7 separate regions of the Homo sapiens genome follow, and regions 2, 3, 4, 5, 6 and 7 are each linked to region 1. The links are contacts of gene promoters, found by promoter capture Hi-C in blood cells and fetal thymus (Javierre and others, 2016). All regions are on one chromosome and are shown on one strand. The core of a region is centred on a gene start or on the middle of the fragment in contact, and the rest is flanking DNA. Distances in the headings are between cores, read along the strand shown.

What was found. The method cuts DNA at HindIII sites, captures the fragments that hold promoters and counts their contacts. A CHiCAGO score of 5 or more calls a contact.
Region 2: a fragment that was not itself captured here is called in contact with the fragment with the promoter of IDNK in region 1 in 1 of 17 cell types (neutrophils); the score reaches 8.8 in neutrophils.
Region 3: a contact is called between a fragment that was not itself captured here and the fragment with the promoter of IDNK in region 1, in 12 of 17 cell types (activated CD4 T cells, neutrophils, naive CD8 T cells and 9 more). The highest score is 12.5, in activated CD4 T cells.
Region 4: a fragment that was not itself captured here is called in contact with the fragment with the promoter of IDNK in region 1 in 6 of 17 cell types (activated CD4 T cells, neutrophils, non-activated CD4 T cells and 3 more); the score reaches 10.5 in activated CD4 T cells.
Region 5: the fragment with the promoter of SLC28A3-AS1 here is called in contact with the fragment with the promoter of IDNK in region 1 in 3 of 17 cell types (total CD4 T cells, activated CD4 T cells and monocytes); the score reaches 6.5 in total CD4 T cells.
Region 6: a fragment that was not itself captured here is called in contact with the fragment with the promoter of IDNK in region 1 in 2 of 17 cell types (non-activated CD4 T cells and neutrophils); the score reaches 5.8 in non-activated CD4 T cells.
Region 7: a contact is called between a fragment that was not itself captured here and the fragment with the promoter of IDNK in region 1, in 1 of 17 cell types (naive CD8 T cells). The highest score is 6.5, in naive CD8 T cells.

What each region holds. Positions count from the first base shown.
Region 1 is chr9:83,621,617-83,625,042 of GRCh38, forward strand. IDNK (IDNK gluconokinase) reads left to right here and starts at 1,527. Exons shown (of 5, transcript NM_001001551.4): 1 at 1,527-1,605. The coding sequence starts at 1,556. RefSeq lists a silencer at 1,222-1,751 and enhancers at 1,932-2,061, 2,082-2,131. The HindIII fragment of the contact is 10,566 bases long and covers 146-3,426 here.
Region 2 is chr9:84,335,202-84,338,627 of GRCh38, forward strand. The region is part of intron 1 of SLC28A3 (solute carrier family 28 member 3); the gene reads right to left. Among named protein-coding and RNA genes, the nearest start is that of SLC28A3, 3.8 kb to the right of the region's middle. The HindIII fragment of the contact is 3,398 bases long and covers 1-3,324 here.
Region 3 is chr9:84,315,019-84,318,444 of GRCh38, forward strand. All of the region lies in intron 1 of SLC28A3 (solute carrier family 28 member 3), which reads right to left. Among named protein-coding and RNA genes, the nearest start is that of SLC28A3, 24 kb to the right of the region's middle. The HindIII fragment of the contact is 1,015 bases long and covers 1,317-2,331 here.
Region 4 is chr9:84,298,987-84,302,412 of GRCh38, forward strand. SLC28A3 (solute carrier family 28 member 3) reads right to left here. Exons shown (of 18, transcript NM_001199633.2): 5 at 3,214-3,403; 6 at 595-739. Among named protein-coding and RNA genes, the nearest start is that of SLC28A3-AS1, 23 kb to the left of the region's middle. RefSeq lists an enhancer at 3,002-3,426. The HindIII fragment of the contact is 9,450 bases long and covers 1-3,426 here.
Region 5 is chr9:84,276,471-84,279,896 of GRCh38, forward strand. SLC28A3-AS1 (SLC28A3 regulatory antisense RNA 1) reads left to right here and starts at 1,700. Exons shown (of 2, transcript XR_001746802.1): 1 at 1,700-1,929. It overlaps SLC28A3 (solute carrier family 28 member 3), which reads right to left. Exons shown (of 18, transcript NM_001199633.2): 17 at 2,795-2,915; 18 at 1-1,874. The coding sequence ends at 1,748. RefSeq lists enhancers at 234-785, 918-2,117. The HindIII fragment of the contact is 13,311 bases long and covers 1-3,426 here.
Region 6 is chr9:84,252,797-84,256,222 of GRCh38, forward strand. No RefSeq gene overlaps it. Among named protein-coding and RNA genes, the nearest start is that of SLC28A3-AS1, 24 kb to the right of the region's middle. The HindIII fragment of the contact is 1,411 bases long and covers 965-2,375 here.
Region 7 is chr9:84,229,311-84,232,736 of GRCh38, forward strand. No RefSeq gene overlaps it. Among named protein-coding and RNA genes, the nearest start is that of SLC28A3-AS1, 47 kb to the right of the region's middle. The HindIII fragment of the contact is 653 bases long and covers 1,252-1,904 here.

The DNA.
Region 1 (3,426 bases), core at 277-2,776:
AGAAATCCAAGGAGAAGAATCAGATTTTCTGCTAATCATTCTGATTTGAACATTGAAAGAAATATGAGCTTTTTTTTTTCATACTGAGCTAGCGAAGCAGGGCACGAGTTAAGAGTATTTGCATACACATCTATTCCTCTTATCAAGCTTGAGAATGCCTAGAGGGTAATCTTTTAAATGAATATTAATATGATATTAACCAGCACATGGTAGATGTTCAAGAAATGTGTATTGACCATAACTGAATTGTAAGACCTCTCTCCAAGCCTCAATTTCTTCACCTGTACAGCCCCCATCCAGATTGAAATCTCACCTACTCGGGCTAAGTATATGAAAAACAAAGGCAGTGCAGGGGTAATTGAACTATTCATTAGATAAATGCTTTTATGTCACTTTTATTGTTTTCTAGGACACAGAGTAATACCTACCTTGGTTAACAAAAGACCAAAGGAGGTGATGCCAAATGCGGTTAGAAGTGCTTTTAATCACTTTGGGAGGCCGAGGCGGGTGGATCATGAGGTCAGGAGATCGAGACCATCCTGGCTAACAAGGTGAAACCCCGTCTCTACTAAAAATACAAAAAAAATTAGCCGGGCGCGGTGGCGGGCGCCTGTAGTCCCAGCTACTCGGGAGGCTGAGGCAGGAGAATGGCGTGAACCCGGGAAGCGGAGCTTGCAGTGAGCCGAGATTGCGCCACTGCAGTCCGCAGTCCCACCTGGGCGACAGAGCGAGACTCCGTCTCAAAAAAAAAAAGAAGTGCTTTTAATCAAATAGTTCAAACGACACATAATTAACATTGTTTTAAAGCAAATGGACACTTTAAAGTGGTGCTCCTTCCTCTTAAAGCCCCAACCAGTGCTGGATTTAACAGCAGAGCCATACAGCCAAGACATATGCTGCTACGGTCAACACTCAACCCTAAGTTTGACACCAAAAGATGGCCGCCATTTATTATTGTGACAAAAGGCCAGATTACAAAACGCTGTGTACGGCCTGATCCCAGTTTTACAAAATACTCATACCCATCTATCTACGACGGGGCGCGGGGAAAGGGGAGTCGTTTTAGGAAGTGCTGCTTATTGCTGCCTGGTGTGGGAAATTATGAGTCTTATTTTCTGTTTATTCTTTTTACAAGAACATTTTTATAAATGAATGAATGAATGCTTTCCATGGGTGGATGAGGATCCGGCCTGCCAGGGTGAGGATCCTCTGGAACCAAGAGGGGCCGGGGCAGTAGAACGACAGGTGGCGGGGCTTTGGGCGGCTCCCTCCAGCCCAGGGAGACGCGAGTGCCAGGCCGGGCGCGCGCTTCACTTCCGGGAAGAGGAAAGAGGGAGGGGAGGGGAGAGGAAAAGAAGGGGCAGGAGAGAGAGGCCGGGAGGTTGGGAAAGGGAGGAGGAAAGCATGGAAAAGGGGCGCGGGAAAACGGGGAGGGCGCAGAGGGGCACGGCCCTCACTGCCCCGGCCGGGGCGAGAGCGGCTCCGCCCCTCGAGCGCCGGGTAGGCCGGGGCCGGCGGGGCCCGGAAGGCGACGGGAAGGAGCCGAGCTTGGGTTATGGCGGCGCCGGGCGCGCTGCTGGTGATGGGCGTGAGCGGCTCGGGGAAGTAGGTCCGGGAGAGGGCGGGGGGCGCCCGGGACAAGTGTTGCGGGCGCGGCGGAGGCCGGACGCGTCGCCGTCCCTGCCGGTGGACTGGGGTCTTGGGGACCCCCCACCCTTCCCTTTGCAGATGAAGAAACCGAGGCCCGCGGCTGCCGCGCCCTCTCCCCGCCCTCCAGCCTGCTCGCGGGGCGCCCATCCTGGGACCGCATCCGAGCTCCGGGTTCCCGCTCTAAGACGGGGAGGCTGCGGCGACCGCAGGCTCAGGGAGGAAGCCGCTCCTGAACAGGCGGCTGCGGGGCCGCGCAGGTGGAGGCCTAGCGAGCGGCGCGGGGCTAGGTTTCGGGGCGCCTTGTCGGGGCCAGGCGGGAGGGCGCACGGCCTCTAGCGAGAGGACGCAAACCACGGCCCAGGCTCTCACAGACCTTTGGCCATCTGGACACACAGCGGCCTCCTCCTATGAGGCCCTGGACTTCTCCGATTCAATTTTGGAAAGTGAATCGTTTTCCCCTTCCTTTCATCAGCTTAACCTGGAAGGAGACAGCGTTAATATGGAGGGTGGCTCCTGAGGGTTTGGAAAGAAAGAAGAGAATTGTGGAAACCACAGAGGTAGCCCAGTGTGCTAACCTGGAGACTGAGGAGTTAACATTTGGCTTCCTGTTTAAACCAAAGTCTAACTGTGCCCTTTATCAGAAAAGACAGCTGCTGTACCATTCGACCACAGGCAGCAAAGGACAGAACTTGATCAGCTAAAACATCATAACCTTCAAGGGCCTATAGGACCCTTCTAGAATTTTCTGAATCAGGAACGGCCCATGTTGTGGCCTGTGTAGTCAGGTGTATATTAAAGATTTACTCCAGGTAGATGGGTTTTGCTTTCCAAAATTATTGTAGGGTTCTCAGCCACAAAGATAAAAAGAAATCTTGAACTGCAATTGAAATAAAACATGGAGCCCCCAAATCCCTAGCTGCCATATGATTTGAATCAGTTGGAGAATGTAAAATCATTGCCATGGTGTGATGTAACAGGAGTGAAGAGCCCTAGGTCTTGGTTCTGTTGCTGTCTGGCTGTGTGAGCCTGGGCAGTTCATGTACCCCCTCTGAGTCTTGAATCAGATGAGGGAGGCCTAATCCCTATGATGTATAGCTTGTGATATTCATGTACTCAGTAATTATTGAGCTCAATCCTTACTCTATGTCATTGTCATATAGCGAACAGGACAGATAAAATCCCTGCCCTCAAAGGATTTACATTCTGGTATGGGAGACAGAGTAAATGAATATATGTAGTGTGTGAGTTGGTGATAGATGCTCTGGAGTAAGGGGAACAAAGAGTGCCAGGCAGAGTGGTCAGGGATGTCTCCTCTGGGGGAGTGGCGTTTCAGCAAAGACCTGCAAGACTTGAGGAACCTGCCATGTGGATAGCTGAGGAAAGGGCAGGACAGGCAGAGGGAATGGCAGGTGCAATGGTTCTGAGGCTTAGCTTCTTTTGTTTTTTTTTTGTTTTGTTTTGTTTGAGGCGGAGCTTCACTCCTGTTGCCCAGGCTGGAGTGCAGTGGTGCAATCTTGGCTCAATGCAACCTCCTCCTCCCGGGTTCAAGCAATTCTCCTGCCTCAGGCTCCTAAGTAGCTGGGATTATAGGCGCCCACCACCATGCACAGCTAATTTTTTGTATTTTTAGTAGAGACGGGGTTTCATCATGTTGGCGAGGCTGGTCTCAAACTCCTGACCTCAGGTGATCCATGCGTCTCAGCCTCCCAAAGTGCAGGGATTACAGGCGTGAGCCACCGCGCCCAGCTAAGGCTTGGCTTCTTTAAGGAGCAGGAA
Region 2 (3,426 bases), core at 376-2,875, 710 kb after region 1:
AACTCACTCTCTTTTTTGCTCTAACTTTATTCCTAGATTTTCTACCTAAATAAAGCCTTGCCCGAGGCTGGGTGAGGTGGCTCACACCTGTAATCTCAGCACTTTGGGAAACCCAGGAAGAGATGGGAGGATCACTAGAGGCCAGCCTGGGCAACATAGCAAGACCCTGTCTCTACAAATATAAAAAATAAAAAAACTTAGCCAGTTGTGGTAGCACGTGCCTGTAGTCCCAGCTACTCAGGAGGCTGAGGTCAAAGGATTGCCTGGGCTCAGGAGTTTGAGGCTGCAATAAGCTATGATTGTGCCACTGCACTTCAGCGTGGGTGACAGAGTGAAGCCCTGTCTCTATTTAAAACAACAGCAATAAATAAACAAAGGGAATCACTTCCAAGTTGACATCCCAAGCTGGAAACATTGACTCCACACTTTCCTTAAGCTGCTCAGCATCAAAAGCTGCTATTGTTATGTTCATACTATGTGCCAGGCACTGTTTTCACAAGTATGTATATACGTGTGTGTGTGTGTGTGTGTGTGTGTGTGTGTATAAAATGTCCATTATACATATATAATATTAGCTTATTTAATTATTTCAACAATCCCAAGATAGGTACCATTATTATGCTCTTTTACAGAGGAGAAAACAGAAATCTTCAGAGCCAGAGCAGCATTTAGGCCCTCATCTTTACTCCTGAATTTCATTGTGGAGGGGTCACCTCATCAGTATTAGTACCTCCGTCCCAGTGTCTGCATCCACTGCCTTTAGCCTGGTTTGGATTATGACAGTAACTTCCCAACGGATGTCCCAGCCACACACAAATCCCTCTCCTTTTCCAAGCACTTTCAATGGGGCCACCAAAGTAATATTAAAAAAAAAAAAATCAGCCTGGTGCAGTTGGCTCACACCTGTAATCCCAGCACTTTGGAAGGCTGAAGCAGGCAGATCACTTGAGCTCAGGAGTTTGAGATCAGCCTGGGCAACATGGTGAAACCCGATTTCTACAAAAAAATACAAGAATTAGGTCGGGCACGGTGGCTCACGCCTGTAATCCCAGCACTTTGGGAGGCTGAGGCAGGCGGATCATTTGAGGTCAGGAGTTTGAGACCAGCCTGACCAACGTTGTGAAACCCTGTCTCTACTAAAAATACAAAAAAAGTAGCCAGGTGTGGTGGCATATGCCTGTAAACTCAGCTACTCAGGAGGCTGAGACAGGAGAATTGCTTGAACCCAGGAGGTGGAGGTTGCAGTGAGCCAAGATCATGCCACTGCACTCCAGTCTGGGCGACAGGGTGAGACTTCATCTCTAAAACACAAAACAAAACAAAGACTAGCCAAGTGTGGTGGCGCATGTCTGTAGTCCTAGCTACTCAGGAGGCTGAGGTGGGAGGATTGCTTGAGCCTGGGAGGTTGAGGCTGCAGTGAGCTGAGATCATACCATAGCACTCCAGCATGGGTGACAGAGTGAGACCCTGTCTCAAAAAAAAAATCACAATTTGACTGCGTAAATTCTGAGCGATTCCTTCTAAAATGCCTTAGCACACGCAGAGGCCACCTGACCTGATGCCAGCCTGCCCCCTTTCCCTATACCGTGTTCCCTTCCTCCATCCCAGGCTCATGTGCTCTTCTCCTTTAGGGTTCTGAGTCTGTACAGATAGTTCTCTCTGCTTGCAGTGCTCTGCCCACCCCACCTCCTACTGTGACCTGACCATCCTTAAAGCCCTAATCAAATTCTCCCTCCTTTGGTGATGCTGTCACAGACTCCTCAGTCAGCTCAGCTCCAGCTATATATTATTTACAATGCACTTGGTGCTGGCTGGGTGTTGTGGCTCATGACTGTAATCCCAGCACTTTGGAAGGCCAAAGCAGGAGGATTGCTTGAGGCCAGGGTTTCAGACCAGCCCTGGTAAGATAGCAAGACAAAATATAAAAAATAATAAATATAAGAATACAATGCACTTGGTGCAAACCTCCGCCATTTTCCTTAACATCAATTATATTGTAATTGCATGCTTATTTCTGCCTGTCCTTCTCCTTGAGGGCAAGAAGAGCATATTATTCTTTCTTGAGTTGGTATCCCTTCTTAGAGGCGGCCATATCTAGGGGGCAGTTGATGATTCTACTGAATAAATAGAAATAACCCAGTCACTGTTTTTAGGTGTGGGTGTTGTTGGTATGATACTCTGCTGGGTTTGAGATGCCCTGCTTAGAACCTTGAGGCCTGGGGATGCTAGCCTGTGTGTGTGCGCGCGCGTGTGTGTATGCGTATGTGGGTGTGAGTGTTTGCACACGTGTGTGTGTGTACTTTGTCCTTTCAGGCAGTTATTTTTCCTGAACTGATGGGAACATCTTGCACAAAATCAAGAGCCAGTTTGCTGACTGTTTTAAGGTTTAAAAAATATTTTAAAATAAAATAAGAAATCCTTAGATATTCCACATACACGCAATACTTTAAATGCCAATCCGAACTTCCTTCATAAATAGCAAACGTCTTATTTGCAACTACTGTTGAATGAAGTCATTTCCATCCTCAGCCATATGAGAAATAAGTTCCTTATTCATAGAAAACGTTTAGAGGTACAATAAAATGAGATTAGAAAAAAAAAACCCTAACATTCATTTCTATCGTTGGTTACAAAATCCACTCTCATGTATGAAGTGTGCTCTAGCTGTGAAATCCTTTCTTGGAGGTGAGATCATTTCTCTCTTATAACCCATATCACTGACTTTGTGCTCCTGTTTAACCTTTCCCACTGGAGTACTAGCTCCATGAAAACAGCAATTGGTGCTCCCTTCTTTGAGGAACAGTCCAGATGAGAGCCTGTCCAGGTAATCCATAGATATGCATAACCATTGCACCTGCACCAGGTCTTACAGGCACAGGCCTTTTGGGAACCCATATCAGCATTTCAAGCTGTGAAAGTAGTTCTACTTAGTAAAATTAGAACTTTGGTCTACCAAGGGCACTCTTAATATTTGAAGAAGAAAAATGAATTTCTAGCACAATTCACAGACTAGGACAAGGTGAATAAGTAAGCATCCTAACTTATTTGGAAGTCCTGGTGGCATGTTAATGCATATTTAATAATGCGAGTGAAGTAGCACATATTTTACAATCAATTAATTTTCCTTAAAGAAGATAATGTAGCAGGAGAGCTGAATGTCAAACAAGGTAAGACTCATACTTATTAACTTGGCAGGAGTTATGAGGCCTCTGATTCTCTTGAAAGACAAATTGTCTTCACTATTTTGATTTTGAAATGTAGAAATTCAAATTTCAATCAATCCAATGAGTAAGGATGACAGGAAATTTTACAGAACTAGGAGGAAGCTTCCTTTCATTTTTCCTTCTTTTTATTGGGGCAGGTGTAGGGGGATGTTTCCCCCACAAAACAGCAGTTTTGCTAGAAGACAGTGAGGGATCACCACCG
Region 3 (3,426 bases), core at 574-3,073, 690 kb after region 1:
GTGAGCTGAGATCACACCACTCTGCACTCCAGCCTGGGCGACAGAGCGAGACTCAGTCTCAAAAAACAAACAAACAAACAGCATGAAAAGAAAAAATATACATAGTATGGGAAGATGACAGAATGTTGCTAATTGCTGAAGTTGGCTGACAGGTACCCGGAGAATCATTTTATTATTCTCCTACTTTGGTGGATGCTAAAATGTTCCTTAATACTAAGTTAAAAATAAAACCAAACATGAATTGGTGGAGTAACAGAACACAGGTCACTGAGGGGCTAGTCCTTAGGGTCCCTACTGAGCAGGCCACATTCTCTCAAGCCTTAACTCCCTCATTCATACAACACAGTTTGGATTTGGGGTTCTTGCGGATCCTTACGGAATCCTGACATTTTCTAATTCTATTAGGAGATTCAGCTTCTTGACGTTGATTCCTCCTGCCACCTGGTGGCAGGATCTGAAAACTACTGGTGGAACACGGGTGGATCCTACGTTTTTAAAGTTAATGAAAGTGGAAGGTGTGTGTGTTGAGGGATAGAGTGGGCACTCCTTTAAGTGGCAACAAGAGCACGTGTGGTTTTGTTCTCCACTGTGTAATAGTCTTATTTGGCCCCCAACAGAGTATACGCCTTGGCCTTTTAGTATTTTCTGGAAGAACAATATCTCCCACTTGAGGATTTCCAACAGAATTAGTGGGGTTATTGTGGATATTGACTGGTACCTGGAAAATGACCATTAAGACAACTGTCTTTCTTCTTCTTTTTAAATTAGAGTCGTGGGGCTGTGATATGGGGCCCCAGATAATGTCTTAGCTCAATGTTTCTTTCCATTTATTTAGCAACTCACATTACTAAATACCTTTGCACACTTAACGCCCTACAACCACGACTGCGTTCTCATGGTAAAATCTATCCCTCTGTTGAATGTGTAAGAAAGGTGAGGGAATTGCATTGTGAGTATGTCTAGGCCGTTTACAGCTTACACATTTAATTTCTCTAGTTAGTTTTAGTTGTTAGGTGTGCTAAAAGATGAGGGTCCTGATTGAGCCCCCTTTGAAGGGACAGCCTAGTAACCAGGAGTACATTGTGCCTGGGGTTTGTTTCCCACCATTTCTTTGATCTTGCACTTTCTATGTGGCTATTAGAGGGAGGCAGAGATGGACAGAGGCATTTTTATTTTCTTCCTTTCATTCACTTTCTAAACCATATAATAACTTCTAGAACACTGGAAATTTCTAAAATGACTCCCCTATTTGTGGTATCCCTTTTCAAAGAATGTTAGCTGACACATGGTCACCTAGGAAAAAGATTACATATCCAAGCTTCCCTTGCAACTAAGTTCTGGCAACGAAATGAAAGTAGAAAGGGTGCCCTGTTGGGGGCAGCTCGGGGAATGTTCCGCCAGGGATGGCTGGCAGGTGCACTTGTTCCTTTTTGTCATTTCCTCTGTCTTGCTGCCCAGTGTGAGGATGGTTCCAACTGGACCATGGATACAAGGCCCACATCCTTGTGATGTCAGGGTGCTGAGTTGGGAGGAACTTGGGTCCCTGGAAGCCTTGAGCAGGAGGCTCACCCCGGCTCTGTACCATCCACCTCAACTTTATTGGGATGAAACTAACTTTTCTCTTGTTACTTTTGGTTTTTGCTTTTATTTTGCACCAAATGATACAGTATTTAGTAGGCAGGAGACACTGTGTAAAACTCTTGTCTGGGCGTGGTGGCTTATGCCTGTAATCCCAGCACATTGGGAGGCCAAGGCGGGCGGATGATGAGGTCAGGTGTTCGAGACCAGCCTGGCCAATATGGTAACACCTCGTCTCTACTAAAAATACAAAAGTTAGCTGGGCGTGGTGGCGGGCACCTGTAGTCCCAGCTACTTGGGAGGCTGAGGCAGAAGAATCGCTTGAACCAGGGAAGTGGAGGTTGCAATGAGCCAAGATCGTACCAGTGCACTCCAGCCCGGGCGACAGAGCAAGACTCCGTCTCAAAACAACAACAACAACAACAACAACAACAACTCCAAGAGGCCTATGAGGTGGGTACCATGATCCACATTTTCACAGATGAGGAAACTGAGGCAAAGATAAGTAAATCACTTGACTTGGGTTGTGTAGCCAGAAATGGCTGGGGTAGAATCTCAGCCCAGACTGTCCCTCCCCAGACCATCTTGTGCCTATAGAGGAGTGATTCTTTGGGCCTGGTGAAGATCAAAAGACACAGTAGTGTGCCTAGGAATTAAATTCCGTTTGGAAATTAGAACTTAGAAAGCCTGATTTGAACTCCAGATATTAAAAGACAAAGGTATAAATTATAGAAGTGTTGAAAGTTCCAGAGAAGCTTGTGGCCACTTTTAGCTACACCTAGGCTCTGTGGTCATTTCTCAAGCCACAATAGTGGTCTTCCTGCCCTGTACGCTGGTTTTAAGTGGAATATATCCTTTGAGTAACATGGGTGGGGACTCCTGCCTCTGTGGACATGTCTTGTCATCATGGCTGGTTTGACATTCTTCAGCCTCTCCCTGGCACTGTGCTGTAATCACACAGCCTGGCTTCCATTTCTCAGTTCTTGTGGTGGGGGTTTTTCTGCTGCAGAGGTACCACCACTGTGCTAGGAGAGCCTTTCTTCACTATAGAATTTGCTCTGGCCTGGTTGCCAGAGCAAATTGCATGAGTGGTCTTGCACTCATTCAGTGGTCTTGCTTCTTGTGGGAATGGAGGCAGTACCTACCTAACAAAGTTGGGTGGCTCCATCCAGTGGCACACATAGTAAGTGCTCATTGACTATTAAGTTAATTTCATGGTTTAGTTTGCTTCTCGCTTGTTCTGGGGCATTTACAGTCGTGTTGTCCTCTGTATTTGAAATTAGACTTATCAAAATCAACATCTGTTTGGTGAATCTGATCTCTCAAAATTGTTTGGGATCATACCCCACTTCAACTCTTTTTTTACTCTTACCATCTACCAATGTCAAATGTTTTAAGGCCCTTTCTCTAAATGTTATTCTTCGACTGCATGGATTTTGCCTAGGAATGATTGCATTTTCAAAGACTGTATTTTAGAAGTCCTTGATCGTTATCTATTGGTCTTGACTCACTTGGTTCATGTAACTTTCTGGCTCAAGTCTCGGGTGTGCATAATCCTTAGTGTGAGTTAATGGGCACTAGCTAGACCATTCCCCAGAGATGTTCTTGTTTTACCTGCCTGCCTGTGTGGGTTTAGAGGCCAGGTAAGGAGCAGCAGTACCTGTGGCAAGAGACCCAGTGGGCAGCCTGGGGCTCACTGTTACCTTTCAATGCTGAGGGATCTTTGGATTGGGTGCAAGAAGTCAAGTCTCTGTATGCTGCTGTGAGTGGCTGTAACACTAGCAATGTCTATGGCTTCAGAACACTGTTAACATTCTTCCCTTGGGAACTTTGTGAGCCAGGAGGCAG
Region 4 (3,426 bases), core at 462-2,961, 680 kb after region 1:
AACTTGGTCTCTGATTTGTGTTTTTTTCCTTGGGTCTTGCTTTTAATGGTAAAGTCTTCCAGAGTTTGCCATCTTGAGTTACATATGAGAGATTTGATGTCTCAGAATTCTTGCCCATTTCACGGGTTACCAGTGGACAGAACTAGGATAAGAGTTGAGTTCAATATTAAAAAGAAAATTGTATAAGGACAAATTTTTGGAGTATAAATGCCCAAACTGCATGGGACTTCGATGAACTGCAGGATCCAATGGAGGACTATTAGATTTTTTACTGGTCTGGGGAAATCTGGATCAAAATGGATGAGTTTTCTCTGTGTGTTTGATGGAGGGTATGCGAGAAGAAATTAGACTTGACAGGGAGAGAACGTCTCACTGGTTATGTAACTGGAAAATTACTGAGAATGGAGCATGAAATAGTAACAAACAGTACCATGAAAGTTCAGGAAGATAGGGCACCCTGGTCACGTTAAATAATCCCATCAAGGTAAGAAAAGTACTGAACAATAGTTAAATTCTCTCACAATCAGTATTTTGAGCAATTTACACATGGGGAGAAAAAGAAAAAAGAACCTAAAAGATCAACTGGATACTTACTCTGGTTGGGTACTTGGAAAATAGAAATAACAGGACAATGTACATTATGAGCCCACCGAAGGACACCAGCTGCTGTTGACCCAATTTGGCAGTGTCAAAGGCCAACCAGAAAATAACTGCTAGGACCAGGGAGCTCCAGATCACCCTAAGAGAAGGGGAAAGGAGGCATTGGCATCATTTGTTGTGCTAACTTGAGAATCATAATCAGGCTTAATTTTTTTTTTTTTTGAGAGATGGAGTCTTGCTCTGTTGCCCAGGCTGGAGTAGAATGGAGCGATCTTGGCTCACTGCAACCTCCACTTCCCGGGTTCAAGCAATTCTCCTGCCTCAGCCTCCCCAGTAGCTGGGATTATAGGCATCTGCCACCACCCCTGGCTAATTTTTGTATTTTTAGTAGAGATGGGGTTTCACTATGTTGGCCAGGCTGGTCTTGAACTCCTGAGCTCAGGCGATTGCCCGCCTCGGCCTCCCAAAGTGCTGGGATTACAGGTGCGAGCCACCACTCCCAGCCATCAGGCTTAAATTAACAAAGAAACATAGAAACAAGATGAATATACTCTGGCACCAGTAGGTTGTGCGTTTAGAAACTGCAACAGATTTTTTTGATTGTGGCTATCAAGGCAAATAGCTAAAAAATTAAGTACTGGGTCTCCTTACTCTACAACTCTTGGGCCCTTCACCTGTTCAAGGATGCACAAAGGGGCCAGAGAGGAGATAGCATGTTTGGAGAGGAATGTCTGGTGATTTCTTTAAGAGAGCTACTGGGATTCTTCACCTTTGTTTTGGGGGATGGGTGAGGTGTTACCTGCTTCCATTTAAGGAAGAACTTGGAATATGTTATCTGCCCTTGGGGGACCTCACCAGCGGCCGAGAGGGAGATCAGACGTTAGGGCAAGTTCTGGCTCCTCTGGGGAGCCCAGCAAGCATGACAAATCTGACTCAGGACTCACGGCTTGCACAGCAGAGCCAGAAAGCCTGCAGTGTTGGGATTGCACAAGCCCAGTTTAATAGGCCAAGGATGTGTGAATTTTCCTGGTAGATCCCACGTTAGTCTTGAGGGAGAGAACTGGTCTTGGGTCCTGCTCAGGGGGCCACCTGAAGGGAGAGGAGGTCCCTCAGAGAGAGGCTGAAGGAAAAGCTCTGAGCAGTTGCTGCAGGACACAGGGTCCTATGGGAAAGGGTCTCTCTAACACTTCACAGGCCCTTCCTCCCAAGAAGGCCAGCTTCATATCCATAGCAGGTAGCCAGGCTGATCCTGGCTTTGAGGCTGGCAGGGGAGCAAGTAACAAGGAGAAAGGGGACACTCAGGCCCAGGCTAGGGAGGAAAACTAGGGCACTGGGTCATGTTCACAGTTCTCATTACTGTAGGGGACAGCATATTCTGATGTTAAAAAATATCCATGATGCCTGTATCAAAATATCTCATATACCCCGTAAATATATATACACCTACGACATACCCACAACAATTAAAAATTTAAAAAATAGGCTGGGCACAGTGGCTGACACCTATAATCCCAGCACTTTGGGAGGCTGAGGCAGGAGGATCACTGGAGGCCAGGAGTTCAAGACCAGCCTGAGCAATATGGTGAAACACCCGTCTCTACTAAAAACACAAAAAAATTAGCTGGGTATGGCGGTACATGGGAGGCTGAGCTATTTGGGAGGCTGAGGCACGAGAATCATTTGAACCCAGGAGGCGGAGGTTGCAGTGAGCCAAGATGGTGCCACTGCACTCCAGTCTGGGTGACAGAGCAAGACTCTGTCTCAAAAAAAAAAAAAAAAAAAAAAAAAGAAAAGGCTGTAAACATTGGACTATTACTAAGAGTGTTCAGAAGGGTCATGGGCTTTTGGCAGTTTTATAAAATATAGGGTAGATATCTCCCATTGAATAAAATTGGAAGAATGATGAATGAAAAAAATTAAGTTTTATTTTGACCATAGCCCCATGGGTCATGAAAAAGAGTGCTCAGCCTCCCATGTTCTATGATCCTCATTTTGTAAATAAATTGTAAAGAGAATGGGTACAACTTGTGTAAGAAAAAAAGTTGGTAAAAATAAAAGCTCTTTACAGACACATAATCAGCAATCTCCATCAGTTTGTACTTATAACCCAATTCTTTATTTACAGGTACTGAGATTAGATGGCATTTGTGTTGTTCCCTATCTTGTGCCAGGACAGACATTACTGATTGATCATGGTGCCCTCCCACTGACAGGTCAGAGGGAGAGTGAAAGCCATCCTGCTATGACAAAACTTTCACTCTATCCTATATTTCTAACTACTTCCTAATACGTAGGCATGGAGGTGTCTCTTCCTAATATAGCACATGGAACGTAATATGCTCAACATCTTTTGGACAACATTTTATCATTTAATACACTTGACATTAAGGCAGTTTGTGAGGACATTTGGATACATTTCAAATGAGTCATTGCCTCATCTAGGCTTTGATTTCCTGTTTGTAAAATGAAGACATTGTAACAGATTACTTCCTAGGGTGTTTCTAGCTTCCATATCCCATAAATGAGGAAGCAATTTCAGAACAAATTTTTGAAACGGTGTTGGAAAGGACTACTATCTCTCTTAACTGAAATAAGAGAACCAATTGCATTTACCACTTCAGCCAGAACCAATGGCTGTTTAGAAGCCTTCTGCCAGGAGACAGCATCTCATCAATTCGATGTTCGTATTTGGCCATCAGGTGATCCCAGACAACAAAGAAGATGGCAGCCACGGTGATCACAAAAAGAGGAAGGGCTCTGTGAAAGTTCAGCACACAGGCCGAAATCACCATAACCAGATAACCTGTCCAGGAAGCAAAAACAGAC
Region 5 (3,426 bases), core at 450-2,949, 660 kb after region 1:
CCCAAACCAAAACCTGTAAACAAAGTAAATGCATGTCCACAGAGGAATGGTATGATACATAAACATAACATTCTGTGGGGTATGATGAACCAGGACACCAAACATTGAGAATGGGGGGAAAACATGCAAATATATTTTCCTAAAATAAAGTCTGAAGACTGCAAGGGCACATTGAGCTCCAAGGAAAATTGATACAAATAATAAGAAATATTTTAGTATATCATACTTCAGGGATAAACAGTCCTCTGGACATTAGGCCTCCTCCTTCACCACCACAAAAAACAAAACACACAAAAAACCCCAACTATTTTCACATAGCTTTTTCTTTTAAATTACTCTTGTACACAAACAGAAGGAAAAATAGAAACAAAATAAATTACTTAAGGTATTTCAAAACCTTTTTCACATTCAGTGTCTGTTTCTTGACTTGGTAATTGATGTTTGTGTTTTCTCACAGCATGTGGTCTTCATGCTATTAAGAGCAGTGGTGATGGGCATTTCGTTAAAGAGCACACCACCATTGTCTCTGGAATCTTTTTCTTAGACACTGACACCCATTCTTCAAGTTTGATACTGATGCCATCCTGGTCAATGAAATTATCAACGCAAGGTTTTCAGAGCTCAACCAGGACTTTTTTTCCTCAACTGCTTCTTACACGGCTTTTGATTGAAGAGTAGCTGCTTTGTCACCAGGAATACATTACCAAATGTGCAGATGAATAGGCCTACCGTTATGGCCTACAACAGGATGGCTCCTTGAAGGGAGACATGGATATTATGTACCCTTATGGTGTATCATATTACTTCTGCAAAATATTCACTATCCCTCCCTATGACAGGATAATTTAACTGTGGTGACTGACATCGTGCCTGTCACAGGACTTGTTTTGGCTAATGGAATGTCATGGAAGTAAAGGGTATCATTTCCTAGCGGAAGATGAAAGAGCCATCATGTGGTTCCCACCTTTCTTTTCCCTCTTAAGACCAACATGCCCCCCTTAGAGGCTGCTCCTTTAGACTGGGTGCTGAAGCAATATGGATTACAACCAAGATGGATCATTACAAACATGTGAGTGAAAAATAAATCTGTAAGCCACTGAGGTTTTTGGGTTGTTTGTTTCTGTAGCGTAATTTATGGTTAAACTGACTGATAGAACTCTTAAGCAGAATGGATTTAAACCCTGGTTTTGGTATGATCCACGTGTTCTCCTCAAGGACTCTTGATTTCTGCAGGACTTCCTGAGGGTAGTCAATGAGTTGGTGATTGATGACTAGTTTTCCCTTATGTGAGATTCAAGTTCAGGCTATTTCAGGTAAGCCAAGGTATATGCAGAGTGACCTCACCTGAGATGTGCTTAAACTGAGTCACCCTGGACTACTTAGTGGACACTAAGTGGGTGTGGGTGAGTCAGAGCCCAGTTGTTGGGAGCGGCCGTTTATAGCTGTATTCTGGTGAAATGCCTTGCAAACATTAAAGTCAGAAAATCCCATTGAGACTGGAATCAACAACACCTCACTTTGGGACATCATAGCAGTTCTTGGTGGGGAAGGGGCTGGTGGGGAGGGAGGGGAGGAGGAAAATGTTGTAGCTTTGAAGGTCCACTCTTGTTTTTCTTCATTCCTTGCAATTAAAGCTGATTCCATTATGGAAGCATCAATCTGTGGACAATAGCTTCTTTTTTTTTTCTTTCCAAAGCAGAAAATTCAGCATCTGTACTTCAGAGTTCCACTGGAGAAGTGGCTGACCTCAAAATGTATTAGAGATCCCATTGCAGTTAAAGGTCGATGGATTCAACAATGTGCAGCAGCCCTTCAAAGAATACAGACTGTGGTTTCCTCCTGGGATGACTTCACCAGGACCCTTGGCAACAGTGCTGGTGGAAAGTGGAAAGAAACAGTTACATGAGCCATAGATGGCAGAAACAGTAGGTGAGCAGACAATGACATTAAAAATAGTTCAGGGCAGGAAGCTGATTTTCTTGCTCACATTCTGGTTAGGGTGGATTAAAGGACAGAGACACTGGGGAATTTGTTTTGGCTCCTAAATTCTGGGTGTCCTCAAGAACTTTCCCTATTTCCTCCATAACAAGCAAAGATAGGATAGAATCAATCCTTATAAAACACTTGCACATTAAGGATGGCACCTTGTGTGGGAACACTGATTTTGCAAATTAAAACTGTACAGGGTGGGGGTGGCTGGCATGGGTCACTGGTAGTTTCTTGTTCACCATAGACGATCATCGTGTTGTCTGGACAGCCTGGATCCCCTTGAAGGGGAGCCAGCAGAGGGTAGCAGTTAAGGGCATAGGCTTAGCAGGAAGATCAGCCTGAATTTTGTATCTCACTTGTACTTGTGCTAATTTTGCTGGAGTAGACATAGCTTCCCTAAGCCTTAATTTTGTGGAATGAAAAAAAAAAAAAAAAGATAGTGCCCAACTTATACAGTAGTTGCAAGGTTTAAGTGAGCTAATTCATACAAAGTGCGTAACACACAGCTGGGTGCATATTAAATGCTTGAGTAGCACTAGCTAGTGTTATAGTTGCTAGCCTTATCTGAGAAAAGTCAGAGTGAAAGGTGGTTAGAATCACTGCATAAGTTCTTACTTTTAAATAGAGTCATAAAGTTATAAAATTAAGTCGATGAGTGAGCGGAGATTGCGCCACTGCACTCCAGCCTGGGAGACAGAGCAAGACTCCGTCTCAAAAAAAAAAAAAAAAAAGTAAGTGGATATTTAGGTGTGATTTGATTGATTATTAATGGAGTATAAAGAAATTATAATCAAGAATACAATACCTGCTCAACAGACTTTGGCAACAAGCTATCACCTTGGTTGTGTTTCCAGGGAAAGTGGAGTTGAAGGCATTCTCTAAAACGTGATGGCAGTTGATGTCCACAGGAGTGCTGGAGAGTATGCCTAGAAGTGGAACAGAGTCCCATTTATTTATTATTTTTTAGTTTTATTTATGTATTTATATATTTATTTATTTAGAGACAGAGTCTTGCGCTTTTGCCCAGGCTAGAGTGTAGTGGCATGATCTCTGCTCACTGCAACCTCTGCCTCCCGGGTTCAAGCGATTCAAGTGCCTCAGCCTCCCAAGTAGCTGGGATTACAGGCACGCACCCAGCTAATTTTTGTATTTTTAGTAGAGATGCGGTTTCGCCACGTTGGTCAGGCTGGTCTCAAACTCCTGACAGCTGGTCTCAAACTCCTGACATCAGGTGACCCGCCCGCCTTGGCCTCCCAGTGTGCTGGGATTACAGGCGTAAGCCACTGCACCCGGCCCCATTTATTTTATTAATTAAGGAAGTCACTGAACCCTCATTCTGTTCTTAGCTCCTCCACCACACTGCACACATTTAACTTTACAGTATGCTTAAGAGCAGCTCTAACTCTCAGCTTTCTGTGGCAGCGTGTGCTGCACATG
Region 6 (3,426 bases), core at 420-2,919, 630 kb after region 1:
GCATGGAGCACTCTCACCTTGCATTTTGTTCTCATCCTTTCTTCTCAAGGAGCACTTATAGGCTTTGTGATGGTTAAACCCACAGGTAAAAGCGCTAGCCCTTTTCTAACATTAATGGGTTACTACAAGGCAAGGTGTGAGCTTACATTGGACATCATATTTTGAGAAATAATGAATGATGCTCTGGCTGGACTGTAGGGTTGAGGGATTCTTACAGAGAAGAGCTCAGTAGATTTTTTTCCCTCCGTCTAGGAAGAATGCCCACAGCTGCCACATTGCTACCTGCTTAGTGCAGCTTGTGGCTACTTGCAACTCGGCTCACAGTCACCCGTTTTCCGGGTATACCTAAAGCTCTTACTCGTGACCCTACTCTGTGACTTGGCATTCAAAGCCCTCCAGGATTTGGCTACAACTCTCTTTTATAAGCTCCTTTGCTTCTCTGCCCCTGCCTGCACCCTGTGCTCCAAGCAAGTTAAATGCCTCCCTCTTCCCTACACAGCCTCATCCTCCCCCACGTTGTGGCTTTGCTCGCGCCTGCTATGTTTGACAGTGACTCTGCTTTTCTACCTCCATGTGCCCAAATACTTTGTACTTTCAGGTTTAATGCATACCTCATCTCTCCATAAAACCATGCCTTATCCCTTCTATCTCAATGTTACCTCTTTCTCCTCTGAACTCTTATAATATTTTATCTGTCTCTCTCAGGACCACCTCTTACTCCTTTGGTTAGTTATTGATGTTCACGTCTCATTTCTCCCATTAGATTGTAAGTTTCTTGAGGGCAGGGCCCATATGAAATTTATCTGTCCCTCAAGTGGCATCCTGCACATAGTGGGTACCTAGCCACCATTTGTTGACTAAATGAATGAAAACAGCATTAATCAAAAGCTTTGGAGATTGACATTCTTGGAGAAATGTTGGTCAAAGTGCATTCCAAGGACCATTTACTTGGGGTGGGGACAGAAGCTTGTTGAAAATGCAGACTCATGGATCCTACTAAGATTTACCAGATCAGAGTCTGTGGAAGGTGAGGCCTGGAAATTTGTGCTTTAAATAAGATTCCTGAAAAGTCCGATGTTCAAAAGCCCATAGATTTGCAAAAAAATATTCAGTCCAGTTGGAGTCAGGCCCTTTAAGCTAAGCACATAGAAAGTGAGAACTAGGGGCTAGGGAAATGTTAGTCCACAGATACCAGAGAGGGCATTTGTATCAGCTTTAAAGCTGGAAAAGGGAAGTTGACATGAATATTAGTTATGATTTGTAGGAAGTCTGTCATCTAATGCAGAGAAGCCTTTGAAACATGCATTTCAGGGTAAACAGTTTATTATGTGTGTTGTCCATCCAACACTCTGTGTTGCCAAGGCTTGGTTCCAGATTCGGAAGAGACTCCTATTGGAAAATTCAAAGGCCATTGGTTTATTGAACAGAACTGGGAGCTCGCTTATTTATTTATTTATTTATTTATTATTATTTTTTTTTTTTGGAGACAGGGTCTCTCTCTGTCACCCAGGCTGGAGTGCAGTGGTGTGATCGTAGCTTACTGCAGCCTTGAATTTCTGGTCTCAAGCGATTCTCCTGCCTTAGCCTCCTGAGTAATTAGGACTACAGGCACATACTACCACACCTGGCTAATTAAAAAAAGTTTTTTTTTTAGTGATGGGATCTCACTATGTTGCCCAAGCTGGTCTCAAATTCCTGGTGTCAAGCTATCTTCCTGCCACAGCCTCTCAAAGCCCTGGGATTACAGTTGTGAGCCCTGTTCCCTGCCAGGAGTTCACTTATTAATTTAAAAAAATTTTAAGTAAGTAAATAAGAAAAATCAGCCAGGCTATAGAAGTCAGAGTGAAAAAAATTCAGCTTGGTCGCAAAAGAAAAAACACCATACAGCATCCAAGTGAATATTTTTAATGCTTATAAAATTTTAATAGGAAGTGTGAGATGGATTTTTGCAGGCTTTAGTTACTACAGCCAATTGGTAACTAAGGAAATACTCTATTCTTCCCTACTGATTTTTCCAGGTGATTTAAACCAAGGATAAAAGCCCTCAAGAATTTGTTTTTAAAGTAATATCTCTAGCTGTCTAGGGAGAAAGGAAATAAAATGAAAGTCACTCCTCTCTTTACATAAAAAACCTTTCCCTGAAGAAAAGTAGTGTGGTGGTCAGTGGTGTTAAGAAAAGGTAAAAATGGACAAGTATTTTTAAAATGACGGTATAACTAGGGTACTGCTAATATTTAGAAAGACAGACAATTATAACAGTTGAGCTGCAGAGAAAATGGCTCAATGTTCTATTTTCAGCTTTTCAACAGGTCAGAGTCATCTAATGAGGGCCGTGGCAGGGTGGCAGGCACACTTCCAGCCGAACTGGTTGTACAAGCTTCTTGTACTAAAAGCAGTCTAGAAGAACCTTCCTAGCATCGAAGCAGCAGGGAGAAGAGCCTGTAGGACCCATTTTTCTAAACACTGTGCTCTTCTTTTTCCTTTTAATTTTCAACTTGGTGTCCATTAGGAGATTTACCTGGCTGCATCATTCAGACGGTAGTTATTGAGTTTCCGCTTAGCCAAGGGCTGTGTTATGTATTTTCTCTGCCTCTCATGTCCTGAGCCAATTTGCCTTATCCAAGCACATCTCTGTTATTATTCTGGAAATTGGGCCATCCTGACAGTCTCAGACAGAGCCACCTCAGCTCTGATTTATTCTGCGAATGTCTTGCTTAAAGGCACAGAGGCAAACCTCTTCAGAGGTATATTTCTCCTGAGTATAAATGCAGTTGTATGTATAGGATTGACAAATTCAGGTTTTTTCCTGCTGTCTGAAATACGGTGCCCCTCTTACCTCAAAAAAGCAAACAGCACAACCTATACTGTGCATGGCTAACAAGACCACCAAATCACAGTGACAGTGGGTGCCTGATGGGATGTGTACCTGAGAGAGCCCCATCTGGGGTCCCCTATCTAGCACTGAACTCAGCAACCATAGCTCTATTAAACAACTTCACCTGCATGACGTCCTTATCACAGAATTGTTGTTCCCCAGGACCGAGACAGAGATTAAAGTAGGTAGGTGGGGAGATGGGATCAAGGTCCCTGCTGGTGTTTCGTTGCTGTGACAATATCCAACCCTATGGGATTGTAGCTCAAGTAGATACTTAGATCAGGCTCCTCTGAGGAAGATTACAGGCAGTTCTTATTTCTGGAGAACTTATATGTGTGAGCCTGGCATTATCACCTTGACTAATGAGTGTTAAAAGAGAAATCAGAATCCCTGAGGACCTCCCGAGAAGAGCTTTTCAGGAAAAAAAAAATGACACAACACCCGGTGCTGACTTTCCCAGTTGCTCAGTCTCCCTCGAGTCCTCGGGGCTTGTGATGTACACCAAGCTTCCGTAATGTCTATCAATTACTTTGGAAGGTAGAGGGCACCGT
Region 7 (3,426 bases), core at 328-2,827, 610 kb after region 1:
GGCACCAAATGTCTCCTGACTCCAACTTCCTTTGCTATTGTTTTAGGCCACTAATTACCTCGTTGCTTACCGAGTTGTTCATTTACTTCTCACGGCTAGCTAGCTAGGTACCTGGAATTCCCCTTTCAAGGAACTCAAGATTTTCCTTTATTTTCATACTTGGCGGGGCTCACAGGCCCCTAAAAGCTGGGGAGTGTCTTTGCTCCATCTCAATAAATCTCACCCAATTTACAAAAATATGCATACAGCTGCTTTTTTGTTACAAGAGAAATACATGTTTATGATAGAAACTTAAGACATTATAAGTAAATAAAAAGAAGAAAATAAAAATCGGCCTTATGTACCGTAGCGGCTGCCGGCATTCATTGGTCACTTTGTCTTTTTTCTGGGTTAATACTCTACATTTTACTTGAAATGTGCTCTCTTCACTTCAGATTTGTTTTTTCATATCATTAAACATTCTTTTACAATACAGTTGATGATGTCTTGGTATGTTTTTTGTAGAAATGACACAATTCATTTAAATAATTCCCAATTGTTCAACACTTAGACTGTTTCCCAAAGTTCTCTATTTTTTCCCATTTTTGCCTTATGTGCATTTTGAAGCAGGGCTCAGAGCTTTGACTTACCTCCAAACAGAGCCAACTCCACTGTGAGTTAGAAGACATGAATGTTTCATGGAGAAACAGAAACTTAGCCATTTGATATTTGTGCTTTGTACCCATTCTCCTTTCCAGACACTGGCCTCTTCTCTCTTTTTTTCTCTTTCCCAGACAGTTTCTAAATGTCCCTTATGATGTCCAGAGTTGAGAGTCATTCATCTCTGTACACTCAGCAAAGCAAAAAGTTCTGCGGTCAGCAGAACGAACCATCTTGACGTAGCAGTTCAGGGACCATCGATTTTAACTCATATGTCCCTTGAAAGGTTCACCAAATAATTTATCAAAGTATTATGGTTATTTCCTTGAGATAAATTCTTAGAGGTGGAACTGCTGGATCAGAAAGCATAAAAAAGGGAATGTTTTCGATGACTTAGGAACAAGGGTGTCAGGTGTGTTGATTTGCTTTCTGCCAGTGCTCTTGAGAGAATGTTGATTTGACTGCAGTCATTAACTAGCTGAGATTTCGAGTAGAATTCCTCTGGTTCATTTGTCATTCTATTCCCTGTCACCGTACTTGGCAGTAGAGCATCAGAGCTCTGTCTGGGAAGTACAACCACTATGAGTGGTATGAATAAGGGATTTGTTATAAAGCTTAGACTTTATGCAACTGTGCAAGGGCTAAGCAAGTATAGTTCTGAAAGGAGATTGGGTAGCATCATAGAAAAATCACCAACAAGGGGCCATGAAGGGGAGCTGTGGTTGGCCTGAGGGAGTTGTAGGTCAGCAGGGCAGGCAGTTGGGAAGAAAAGCTGGCTGTGAAGCAGAGGGAAATAGTCAAGTAGAACGCAAAAGGGCAAACTGGAGCCTGAATCTGTGTTTCACTGATGTCTAACTCCAGTGGTGCTGATGACCTATCAAACAATCGGTGCCTTTTGCTATGGAGCTGTGCATGTGTCTGGCCCAGGACTAGTTGAAGCTGAAGGAGTTGATCTAGTGGGAGCTGAAGGAGCTGTGTGCCCTGCCTCTGCCCCATGCTAACAAGACTAGCCAGCAGATCAGCCCCTGGGGCCTCCAAGGCACTTAAAGCATAACGGCTGCTGTTATGTAGCTTCCAAACCGCATGCAAATCTTCCTTGTGTGCAATCCTCACTTGGAACCATCTGGGGAAAGGACTTTTGGGAAGCATAGCTCCAGCTTAGCTAAGTTGACAGAGTAAAACCACCACAAGCAGTGCCTGTAGGACTCAGTGCCAGGACAGAAAAGTGAATTCTAGTGAAGATAGTATTTACTATTGCCTAGGGAAGCTTACAGAGGTAGCAAAGCCAGAAAAATTTTGCTGATGTGTTTTCCTGTAAGGGAAGAAGTTTCCCAGAAGGGAAAACAAGCTCAACACTGAGGAGAGAATTCTGCAGAGAAATGTTATACTTTCTCCCATGAGAGAAATTACTGAACCAAATATTCTCAGGTCTTTTGGTAGAGGCATTGATGAGCCAATCAGAGAAGGACCATGTGTTTGTATCATTTCTCTGAAACAGACTTAGGAAGTAATCTGAGCTAACCTATGTATAAAAATCTCTGTAAAGGACATGAAAATACCCCCAATCAATAATTAGAAGCTATTGTTATTGGAGATGCTGCTAATCTTGTATCATGAAGAATTTATACAATTACAGAAGTTGAACTTGTCTGTAGCAGCAGTCCTCTTCAGAACCCAGAGAACCTATTGTATTTTATTGCACTTATGGGATATTTGTCATATGTTCCAAACACAGGCAATAAATTATAATATTAAATAATTCAAGCCAGGCATGGTAGCTCACACCTATAATCCCAGAACTTTGGGAGGCTGAGGTGGTGGACCACGTGAGGCCAGGAGTTCAAGACTAGCCTGGCCAATATGGTGAAAGCCTGTCTCTACTAAAAATACAAAACTTAGCTGGGCATGGTGGTACACACCTGTAATCTCAGCTACTTGGGAGGCTGAGGCAAGAGAATTGCTTGAACCCGGGAGGCGGAGGTTGCAGTGAGCTGAGACCATGCCACTGCACTCCAGCCTGGGCTGGAACAAAAAAAAAGAATTCGAAATGGTAGTAGTCAACTACTGAATCTCACTGCTTTGGAAGAGACCTCCAGTGGTAAACTTGAACATTTTCAAAATTTTCCTGTTTATGGCATAATTTTTTTTTCAGCTTTATTGACAACAGTGGCAGTGTCAGAGACAGCCTGATAAAAGACAATGAGGGGAGGCTCAGCCATAATAACGTAGGTGGTGGAACTCAGATGCCTCTATCTTTGTATCCTTGTTCTTATTGTGGCTATCGGTCCCCACAATACTTCTAGTCTCAGTCAGGACCGATATTCCTGCCTATTGCACTGCCTGATTCTTTGATGTTTTCCAGACACATTTTGCTCAATATAGCTGGGTTTTATCATGAGGAGTCCTTTAGAAAATCCCCAAAGGGGGTCAGACATTACTGGTACAACTCTGGAAAGATCTTTTCCATTCTAACAGCAAAAGATGAGAATTCCAGATTATCACCACTGCTCTTAGGTGAGATACACTGACCAGAGTTCTGCTTGAAAGTGACCCTAGACTGGGATTCAAAGACACCTTCCAAAACCACACCACCAAACCGAGCCACCAAGGGAGCTGCTCCTCCACAAGTGGGAGTTGCTGATCCAGGCAGCTGCCCTACAGCTGCAGCCTTTCTCCAGCCTTTCCAACAATTCTAAGAGCACTTTATATCCTTAGCAACTCCTTTGCATTTAAACTAATTTAGGTGGATACCGTTGTCTACAGTAAGGGCCCTGACTAATAAAGCAA